Linked DNA regions of Homo sapiens: region 2 is linked to region 1. The links are contacts of gene promoters, found by promoter capture Hi-C in blood cells and fetal thymus (Javierre and others, 2016). All regions are on one chromosome and are shown on one strand. Each heading gives the region's core, a stretch centred on a gene start or on the middle of the fragment in contact. The rest is flanking DNA. Distances are from core to core; before and after follow the strand shown.

Evidence for each region. Contacts are between HindIII fragments. The CHiCAGO score rates a contact against its expected background, and 5 or more counts as called.
Region 2: a contact is called between a fragment that was not itself captured here and the fragment with the promoter of RNH1 in region 1, in 2 of 17 cell types (total CD8 T cells and total CD4 T cells). The highest score is 5.5, in total CD8 T cells.

Annotation. Positions count from the first base shown.
Region 1 is chr11:505,652-510,446 of GRCh38, forward strand. It overlaps RNH1 (ribonuclease/angiogenin inhibitor 1), which reads right to left and starts at 1,591. Exons shown (of 11, transcript NM_203387.3): 1 at 1,462-1,591. It also overlaps a transcript of LRRC56 not described here. RefSeq lists an enhancer at 860-1,029 and a cis regulatory region at 945. The HindIII fragment of the contact is 5,455 bases long and covers 1-3,553 here.
Region 2 is chr11:250,092-254,907 of GRCh38, forward strand. PSMD13 (proteasome 26S subunit, non-ATPase 13) reads left to right here. Exons shown (of 13, transcript NM_002817.4): 10 at 712-774; 11 at 1,455-1,535; 12 at 1,729-1,845; 13 at 2,414-2,893. The coding sequence ends at 2,509. It also overlaps the pseudogene COX8BP. Among named protein-coding and RNA genes, the nearest start is that of PSMD13, 16 kb to the left of the region's middle. The HindIII fragment of the contact is 753 bases long and covers 1,291-2,043 here.

The DNA.
Region 1 (4,795 bases), core at 341-2,840:
GGGCTCAAGTGCTCCTCCTCCCTCAGCGTCCCAAGTAGCTGGGACTACAAGCGTTCACTACCGCAACTGGCTAATTTTTTCTATCTTTTGTAGAGACGGGGGTCTCACTATTTTGGCCAAACTCAGTATGTTGGTCGCAAACTCCTGGGCTCAAGAGATCCGCCCGCCTCGGCCTCCCAAAGTGCTGGGATTACAGGCTGCAGCGCACCCAGCCTAATGTAACTTTTTTTTTTTTTTTTTTTTTTTGAGAAGGAGTTTCGCTCTTGTCAGCCGGCTGGAGTGCAGTGGCACGATCTCGGCTCACCGCAACCTCCGCCTCCTGAGTTCAAGCCATTCTCCTACCTCAACCTCCCAAGTAGCTGGGATTATAGGCGCCTGCCACCACGCCCGGCTAATTTTGTATTTTTAGTAGAGACGGGTTTTCACCATGTTGGCCAGGCTGTTCTCGAACTCCTGACCTCAGGTGATCCGCCTGCCTCTGACTGCCCGGCCCAGTGTAACTGTTAACGGCAACATCGTGTGCAGTCTCCGGCTTGCATTCGGTTTAGTCAGCCAATCGCTAAGACGACACTTGAGACCGTTTTCAGATCTTTAGGCTTTCCACCATCCTAGAAGGGGGCCTGCCTGGTTCTAAGGCCCTTCTGAAACACTGCCAAACTGTCCTCGGGAAACGGTGCAGAAGTCCTCTGGTTTCCCCCAAGGCGCGTGGGCACCTTGGCTGGAACCTCGCCCAGTAACACGACGTGCCTGGGGCCCCTTCGTCATTTCCGCCAACCCCGGTGACAACCCTGACACCGGCCCCTAAGTGCCATTCCAGTTATGTTGCTCTCCTCCCCGCAGCCCCAGGCGGCAGCTTCGCGGCCCGGCGTCCGGTCCCCCGGTGGTCCCGGAGCGAAGCTCCGCAATGGAGAGCGGAGGACCCTCCCTCCCCGACCTCGCACGACCAAGACCGCCCACCTTTCCCCCAACGCCCGGCTGTGGGAGCCGTTCGAGTCTTCTCCGCCAGGGCGCTCCTTCCCGGGAGGCCGCTTCTTTGGGGGAATAAGGTCAAGGATTACGGGATTTGGGGAAGCAAGCTCGGCTGGGCCAGGATTGCTTGCGTAGCTCGCTGGAATCTAAGGCACTAGAGGGCTTGACGGCCACGTGAGGACGAACCACGCAGGCGCAGCCCCGCGCCCCGGGCAAGGACTTCCGGCAAGCCCCAAAGGGGAGCGTGCACCGCGATGACGTCCTCAAGGCGCGCCACGTCCGCCCGGCGGCGCAGCTGCCCAGCGCAACCTCGGCCCCGCCTCGATAGCCCCGGACCCCTGCCCCGCCCGACCCCGCCCCGCCACGGGAGCGCGCCACTCGCCCGCGCAGCAACGGCCTCAATAGCGCCAGGCCCGCGTCTACAAGAAGCCCGACCAAGGCCGGCGTGGGCGAGGCCTGGCTAGACGCTGACGCACCGCTGGAGCTACTGACCTCGGGACGACTGGCGGACGGTCGCGGGCCTGGAGACCCAGAGCGAGACGGCCTACTTCGTTCTCGAGCCAGCAGAACGGGTTGAACGTGTCGACAACCCCACCCGCCAGTCAGCGGCGCGGGCGTGTTCGAGCCGGCTCGTGGGCGTGGTCAGGTGCGTGGGCGGGGACTACTGGGCGGGGCTCGGCGCGGGGGCGGGGCCTGGCGGGAGTAGTCTCGGGGTCGGGGCGGGGCCCGGCGGGCGGGGCTCGGCTAAGCACAGTCTTGGCGCAGCGGCGGGGCCTGGTGGGGCGTGGCTCGGTGAGGGAGGTCTCGCTTGGGGGCGTGGTCTCCCCCAGTAGGCGGGGCTTGGTGCCGGGGGCGGGGTCTGGCGGGCGCGGGCGCGTGTGCGTGTTGTGGGCCTCGCACTGGCACGCAAGTCTCAGCAATTCCTGAGAATCCTCGGAGGAAGAGGCCGGGGCCCGGTGCGGCAGCGCCTTGGGGGCGGAATCGCAGGCGCGGGTCGGGCCTTGCTGGGGCGCGGGGCGCGGCCCCCGGAGAAAGCGGCCGCCTCGGGACAGGAGGGACCCGGGAGAAACCCCCCTGGGGCGGCTCCGCATGTCGGGGTCGCGACTCTAGGCGACCTTGGTAGAGGGGCTCGTTTGCGCCGAGCTCGCGACCCCCGAGGGAGCCACGGCCCCGTGAACCACGCTGCCCGTCCTGGCCACTGGCTGCCGCCTTTGTTTCGTGGGACCCCAGCCCGCAAGGCCTGCGGAGCCGCGGCCTCGTCCCGAGTGTTCTGAGCGCGGTCCGAGCTGCTCCTGCGTCCACTCTGCTGCCGACACCCGAGCGTCGCCTGGAGCCCTGGCACTGAGGGGCGCAGGCCGAGTTCCAGACCAGCCTGGGAAACGCAAAGCGACCCCACCTCCACAAAAGTGGGTTTTCTTTAAGTTTTTGACTAGTCCGCAATTCACAGAATTGACATTTTGGCAGATGAAGATTGCAAGTAAGGAAACTAACGGTATCTCAGATTTGTTCTTTAGCAATTTGCTAAACCTCTCCTCTGACTGCCTTTATTAGGTATTTGTTTTCGAGACAGGGTCTCACTCCACTGCTTAGGCTGTACTGCAGTGGCGCGATCCCAGCTCGCTGCAGCCTCCACCTCCCGGACTCCAGTGATCCTCCCGCCTCAGCCTCCCAAGTAGCTGGTACCACAGGCGCCAGCACGCCTGGCTAATTGTTGTATTTTATGTAGAGAAGAGGTCTCCCTGTGTTGCCCAGCCTGGTCTTGAATTGGGCTCAAGTGATCCTCCTGCTTCAGCCTCCCATATCGCTGGAATTACTGGCATAAGCCACTACACCCGGCCTGATCATCTTTAAAGAAGGTGGTTCTGGCCGGGCGTGGTGGCTCACACCTGTAACCCCAACACTTTGGGAGACCGAGAAGGGTGGATCACCTGAGGTCAGGAGTTCAAGACCAGCCTGGCCAACGTGGTGAAACCCCATCTCTACTAAAAATACAAAAATTAGCCAGGCATGGTGGTGGGCACCTGTAATTCCAGCTACTTGGGAGGCTGAGGCAGGAGAATCGCTTGAACACGGGAAGCAGAGGTTGCAGCGAGCCTAGACCACACCATTGCACTCCAGTTCGGGCAACAAGATGAAACTCTGGCTGGGCGCGGTGGCTCACACCTGTAATTCCAACACTTTGGGAGGCCAAGGCAGGCAGATCACCTGAGGTCAGGAGTTCAAGACCAGCCTGGCCAAGATGATGAAACCCCATCTCTACTAAAATTACAAAAACTTAGCCAGGCATGGTGGTGCATGCCTGTAATCCCAGCTACTCAGGAGGCTGAGGCAGGAGAACCACTTGAACCCAGGAGGCAGAGGTTGCAGTGAGCCAAGATCGTGCCACTGTACTCCAGCCTGGGCAACAAGAGCGAAACTCCATCTCAAAAAAGAAAAAAGAAACTCCGTCTCAAAAAGAAGGTGGTTCACACACACACACACACACCCCCAAGAAAGCTCAGGGCTGGAAGGCAGCCAACCTGGCTGTGACCCTCATCCTGCACACGTGAGCTTGGTGACCAGTAGCTGATTCTTTAACTCTCTAAGCTTTGGAGTCTGGATGTGAGGTTTAGAATTCATGACAAGAAGCTGGAAGGATGCCGCCAGTCTGACTCCTGGACTGGTTCTCTTGACATCTTTGCAAAAGCTGCTGAAATGTTCTGGTTTCATTTCATTCTTTTCTTTGCCATGATCTCTTAGATTTGTTCGTGGCAATTCTCATAAGAGTGAAGAAAATGTTTAAAATGGCTGTTGGGCTCCCTTTTGTGACACCTTGTGGGGAAGGTGCCCAGGTATGTATAGGTGCTGAGCGCACGGCCAGCATGGTGTCTGTGGCCGGGCCTCCCTCCTGGACAGTGCGGCCACAGCCCCTGAAAGGTATGTCTTCATTTTTATTTTATTTTATTGAGATGGAGTCTCGCTCTGTCGCCCAGGCTGGAGTGCAGTGGCGCGATCTCGGCTCACTGTAAGCTCCGCCTCCCAGGTTCAAGCCATTCTCCTGCCTCAGCCTCCCGAGTAGCTGGGACTACAGGCACCTGCCACCACGCCCGGCTAATTTTTTTTTTTTTTTTTTTTTTGTAATTTTAATAGAGACAGGGTTTCAGCGTGTTAGCCAGGATGGTCTCGAGCTCCTGACCTTGTGATTCGCCCGCCTCAACCTCCCAAAGTGCCTGGCCTTCATTTTTATTTTTGAACTTACCTGCCTCACCTCGTTATGTCTTTATCTTATTTTTAAACTTACTCAGTTCACCCACTGTGGAATTGGGAGTATATGGAAGTATTCCCACCCCCAGTTTTATATACCGCCCCAGAGCTGACCATTCTCGCTCATTTCCCCGGGTCCTGGCCGACTCGAGTGTGCCTTTCCTTCCGATCCTGCTCCACACAGATCTGAGGGATGCTGCCCTTTCCTTCTCCACCTGCCCCTCCCTCACATCCAGCCCCACCAGCCTACACGTTAGCTTAAATAGGGAGCTTTTACATTCCCCATGAAAGGGAATCCAGGGACAGGCTGAGGCAAGAGACCCCCAGTGTTCATGAGATGCCATCTAGAGAAAACACCGTGGTGCTGAAGGCCTAAGTCAGACCCCGGGGAGAGAGGCACCAGGGTGACTTTGGGTGGAGAGTCCTGTGCCTGTTCTACTTCTATAAATATACTCAGGTCAGGCACGGTGGCTCACGCCTGTAATCCCAGCACGTTGGGAGGCCGAGGCAGGCGGATCATTTGAGGTCAGGAGTTCAAGACTAGCCTGGCCAACATGGTGAAACCCCATCTCTACTAAAAATA
Region 2 (4,816 bases), core at 417-2,916, 260 kb before region 1:
TGTCTGGAGGGGTAGTGAGCCCTTTACAGAGCTTGACCTGTCCAGTACTTGTGGCAGAAATGTCCCCATCGGGGCTACCTGTGTCAGGATATGAGTTGCTATTTGAATTAAAACAACAAGTCTCCTTGGTTTAATTCTGTGCTCACAGGTAACGTTTTGATCCATAAGAAGAGATGATGCATATCTTGCAGAAGCGTATATTCTAGTTCTCAGGACAATGATATTTTTCATTATAAATTAATAACTTGCTCTTTTGATTCAGAACAAGTCTCTAGAACTTAAGGAAGCTTTTCCTCAGAGGGGCTCCACTTGCACTGGCTCACTGAGCCGGCAGCAGCCCTTGAAAGAACCCCCCTGGGCAGTAGGGTGTATCCTTCCCAACAGCACCTTGACCAGGAGAGTCTTCTCGAAATGCCCGTACCCTGTGGCCCTGCCTAATGGTGTCTGTAGCATTAATACAAATCTTACCTTGTAAATTCCTTGCCTTGACAAAGTGTCCCAGTTAGGTGCGACTCTTTCCATTTCCTAAGAAGAATGAAGCTCAGATCACTTGTTGTTAATGAGCTTCAGCAGTCTGCAATGTGAAATGTTTGGATCTGCTTAGCTGGTTTTTGTTGGGTCTACTGTTATAGAACGAATTCCAGATCCCCAGTTAAGTAACTGATAAGCACAAACATGGAAGACATTTTTCTGTCTTTCTATACTTTACAGCCTGATTTAGCAGCTAATGAAGCCCAGCTTCTGAGGAAAATTCAGTTGTTGTGCCTCATGGAGGTAAGCGAACACCCAGGAGCCACTTTGTCTGTGGTTTCAGATTTTGGTCAGGTGGGGGCGCTGCACTCTCCAAGCCTGTGCTGAGCAGTGTGAGCTTTCAGTGGTGCTGCTTCTGCTGTGCGCCGCTCTCTTCACCACCTTCCTTTTCCTTTGCTACCACTTGCTCTTCTAAGTTTATATTTGGCTCTTAGCTCAGACGACACCCTCCCACCCCACTGCCACCACCCTGAGGCCTTCCCTGACCATCTGAACTGAGATGAAGTAGCTGCCCCTCTCCCCGTGATGCAGTTGTTGCCTCATTGCATGTCGCTTCTTGTGTACACGCACATCTGTCTTTCCCCACTAGAACTTAAGCTTCGTCAGGAAGTGGCCCTTAGATTTCTGGTTTGCCGTGGTCACCCCTGGTCAACCCTGGCAAATTGTGGCCTCAAGTACTTGTTCGGGGATTGAACAATGGCTACTGTCAGAAACTCCTGTAAGGCATTTTGCTGTTATCCTTCTTATCTAAGCATTAAAAGCTTGTTCTTAACAAGATATATGTCTAATATTAGGAAACTTTTTAGTATGTGGGGTACTAATAAGATCTCTATTTTCAGAGCCAATATTGACAAAACATCCTTATCAGTTCTCTATTTTTATTTGGAAAAATAGTTTAAAATAGTTAATAAAATTTTTTCCAGATGACTTTCACACGACCTGCCAATCACAGACAACTCACTTTTGAAGAAATTGCCAAAAGTGCTAAAATCACAGTGAATGAGGTACGGTCCCTAGGCTCAGGGTGTTAGAGCAGCAAAGCTGCCACATGGAGGAGTCAAGGCTCTTGTGTGAGCGCTGTGCTCCCTAGACAGTAAAAAATGACGGGAGGAGCGGCATCTGCTTCTCACAAGCCATCTGGGTCCATGGGGGTGTGTCAGGCTATCTTGTCTTACACACGCCTCCCTCTCTGCACAGGTGGAGCTTCTGGTGATGAAGGCCCTTTCGGTGGGGCTGGTGAAAGGCAGTATAGACGAGGTGGACAAACGAGTCCACATGACCTGGGTGCAGCCCCGAGTGTTGGATTTGCAACAGGTGATGTGTTTGAAACCCATTATTCACCTCTGTGGATTTTGAGGGGTTGTGTCTATACCGTCTTAGTTTCATTTGGATGGAAGCCATTTGGGAAGACAGCATTATTAGACAAGAGGTTTTGGAGAAGGAAATACTGCTGTTGGGTTTTTCTAAGAGCCTAATTTAATGCAAGCCTAGGGTTTGAACCCTGCATTTAAAAGCTTATGATGACAATGGCACTGGTTGTGCTGACGGTGCCTTTTAATCTTAAGATAGGAGCTCTGATCAGATACGTTCCTGGTTCTGTGATTTGAGCTCACGTCGCTCTTACATTTGCTGGAAATGCGATCCTGTGGATTTCCTCTGTCCTTGTCTGCTTTCTTTCATGCAAGTTTTTTCTAACGTTCCTGTGAAAAGAATTAACCCGGCAAGTCCCGTCCCACTCCCCCAGCTCAGAGGTCCTTTTTACTAGAGCTGCCCTAGAGAGTTAGCTGGAGATGTAGAGTCACCCCATCAGGTGCTGTGCCGGCCGCTCGGCCTGTGTCTCCTGCGTGTCTTAACGTCCCTTGTGTCCGGATTTCCATTTCAGATCAAGGGAATGAAGGACCGCCTGGAGTTCTGGTGCACGGATGTGAAGAGCATGGAGATGCTGGTGGAGCACCAGGCCCATGACATCCTCACCTAGGGCCCCCTGGTTCCCCGTCGTGTCTCCTTTGACTCACCTGAGAGAGGCGTTTGCAGCCAATGAAGCTGGCTGCTCAGACGGTCGACATTGAATTTGGGTGGGGGTTGGGATCCTGTCTGAAGTACAGACTGTTCTTGCTCTAAAAACAGGACTGTCCCTGATGGGAGCCAGGCCACAGGGAGGAGGCTTCTTTGTGGGTCTCTCCTGCAGAGGGTGGGGGTCTCAGGGTCTTAGGTGATACGGGAGAGAAAGAACGTGCCAGGCAGGAGGCCCCCTGAAGTCTGTGTACTCCGAGGTGGATCTCCATCCCCATCCACCTGTACGGACATCTTTTCCGTTGCGGTTTGAGAATGTTCCTATAATAAACCCCTCTGCTTTGTTCTTCTTGTGGCTCTGTTTTCTTGGGCTTAGCTTCCAGGCCAAGCCTGTGCCTGGAGGTTAAAAAGCATGAGTTGGAACCTTGGGAAGACACGGTGGGGGTAGCCTTGGCCCTTCTCCTCCCTGCACATACAGTAGACGGGCAGAATCCAGCACCAAGGACTAACGAAGACGCTGGTCCTATCTTTATTGTTAGTCAAGAGAGACCTAGGGGTATCCACTCCCTTCTCCAGCCCTCTCAGGTACCTGCCCCGACACAGGCATCCATCCACATCCTTGTCACCACTCATCATTCAAATAGCCACCAGCATCTGTGACCTGGTGTGCCCCAGTGCGGACATGAGCCATCCCTGGGACTGGGCATGTAAAGGAAACCACCTTGAGGTTCCCCGTCTGGGAGTGGAGGTGCACGTACACAAAGAATCACAGAGTGAACATTAGGTGGAAGGACAGTTTAATGTGATCTTTCAGTCCTGGGCCTGCAGTGACAGCATGGAGCTCTTGCAGCTCTCCAGGTCGGGTGAGACCCAGCCTCCAGGAACCAGGAAGCTGATGAATGTGAGAGCCCCACGGCCTGCTCCTGTTGGAGGAAAGCACCCACAAGTCTGCTAGGCTGGCAAAGAACAGTTGTCCGGCATCTTCTCCAGCCTTTTCCTCTTTGGTTGCTGGTGTCTGAGCTCCTGGTTTTTTCCACCTCGTCCAGGCCTCGCCTGACCTCATGGCCCCAGACCCCTCTCGGTCTTTCCACCCACCCTCTCCAGACCTCGTTTGGCCCTGGTCCAGATGGCCTGACACCCCAGCTGTTCCTCGTCAGTCACAATTGCTGGGATCTATTGACCACTAGCCTTTATACCCACCTCACTGTCAAGTTCCCAAGGCCCTGTGGTGCACCCTTCAACCTTCCGCAGCCCCTCTCAGCTGCTCAGGCCAAATGTCTTAGTGTGAGCCTCCATTTCCCTCAGACACTCATGTGTACATCGAGCCCGCTGACTCCCCACCCTCCCTAAGTCCAGCCTCAAACCTGTCCTCCATAACCGCTCCTCCACACAGCAGCCCAGACAGTCTTCCAGAACAATCAGGTCTTGTTGCTGCCGCTGCTCAGCATCCTCCAACAGGCTTCACTCACCCCCAAGGCCTGAGTGCTCTGACCACTGCCTGCCTTGCTGGTCCTGCTCCTACCCTCATCTGCTCTCCCTGCACCCCACCAAGGCTCCTGCCTCATCCCAGACATGAGCTGATCACAGCCCAGAGAGACACAATTCTGCATGCTGAAATCCCGAAAAATCAAAATTCTGAAAATATATTTCTGGAAAAAATAATTTTAAAATTATTTAAAAGATATTTATTTACTTTTTTTTCATTTTTTTATTTTTGAGACGGAGTTTCACTCTTGTTGCCCAGGCTGGAGTGCAATGGCACCATCTCCGCTCACTGCAACCTCTACCTCCTGGGTTCAAACAATTCTGCCTCAGCCCTCTGAGTAGCTGGGATTACAGGCGCCTGCCACCACACCTGGCTAATTTTGTATTTTTAGTAGAGATGGGGTTTCTCCATGTTGGTCAGGCTGGTCTCAAACTCCTGACCTCAGGTGATCCGCCCGCCTCAGCCTCCCAAAGTGCTGGGGTTACAGGCATGAGCCACCACGCCTGGCCATCTATTTACATTTTTAAAGGGGATTTATTTGAGAAACATAAAAACATGACATATGACAGAACACATCATAGGCCACTTCACACAATAAAATAGACAATAATAATATCCATGTTTCTGCAAGTGTAAACAGTCATACCAATGACAGTTATGCACAGATGAGCTGTATTCGTAAAGAAATGTGTTGAGAGGGGAAATGCATGAACACCTACCGCTCGGGTGGGAATTGCGTGCGCCCAGGTTCATAACTGCAGTCTTCCGAAAAGCCAGGATGAACAA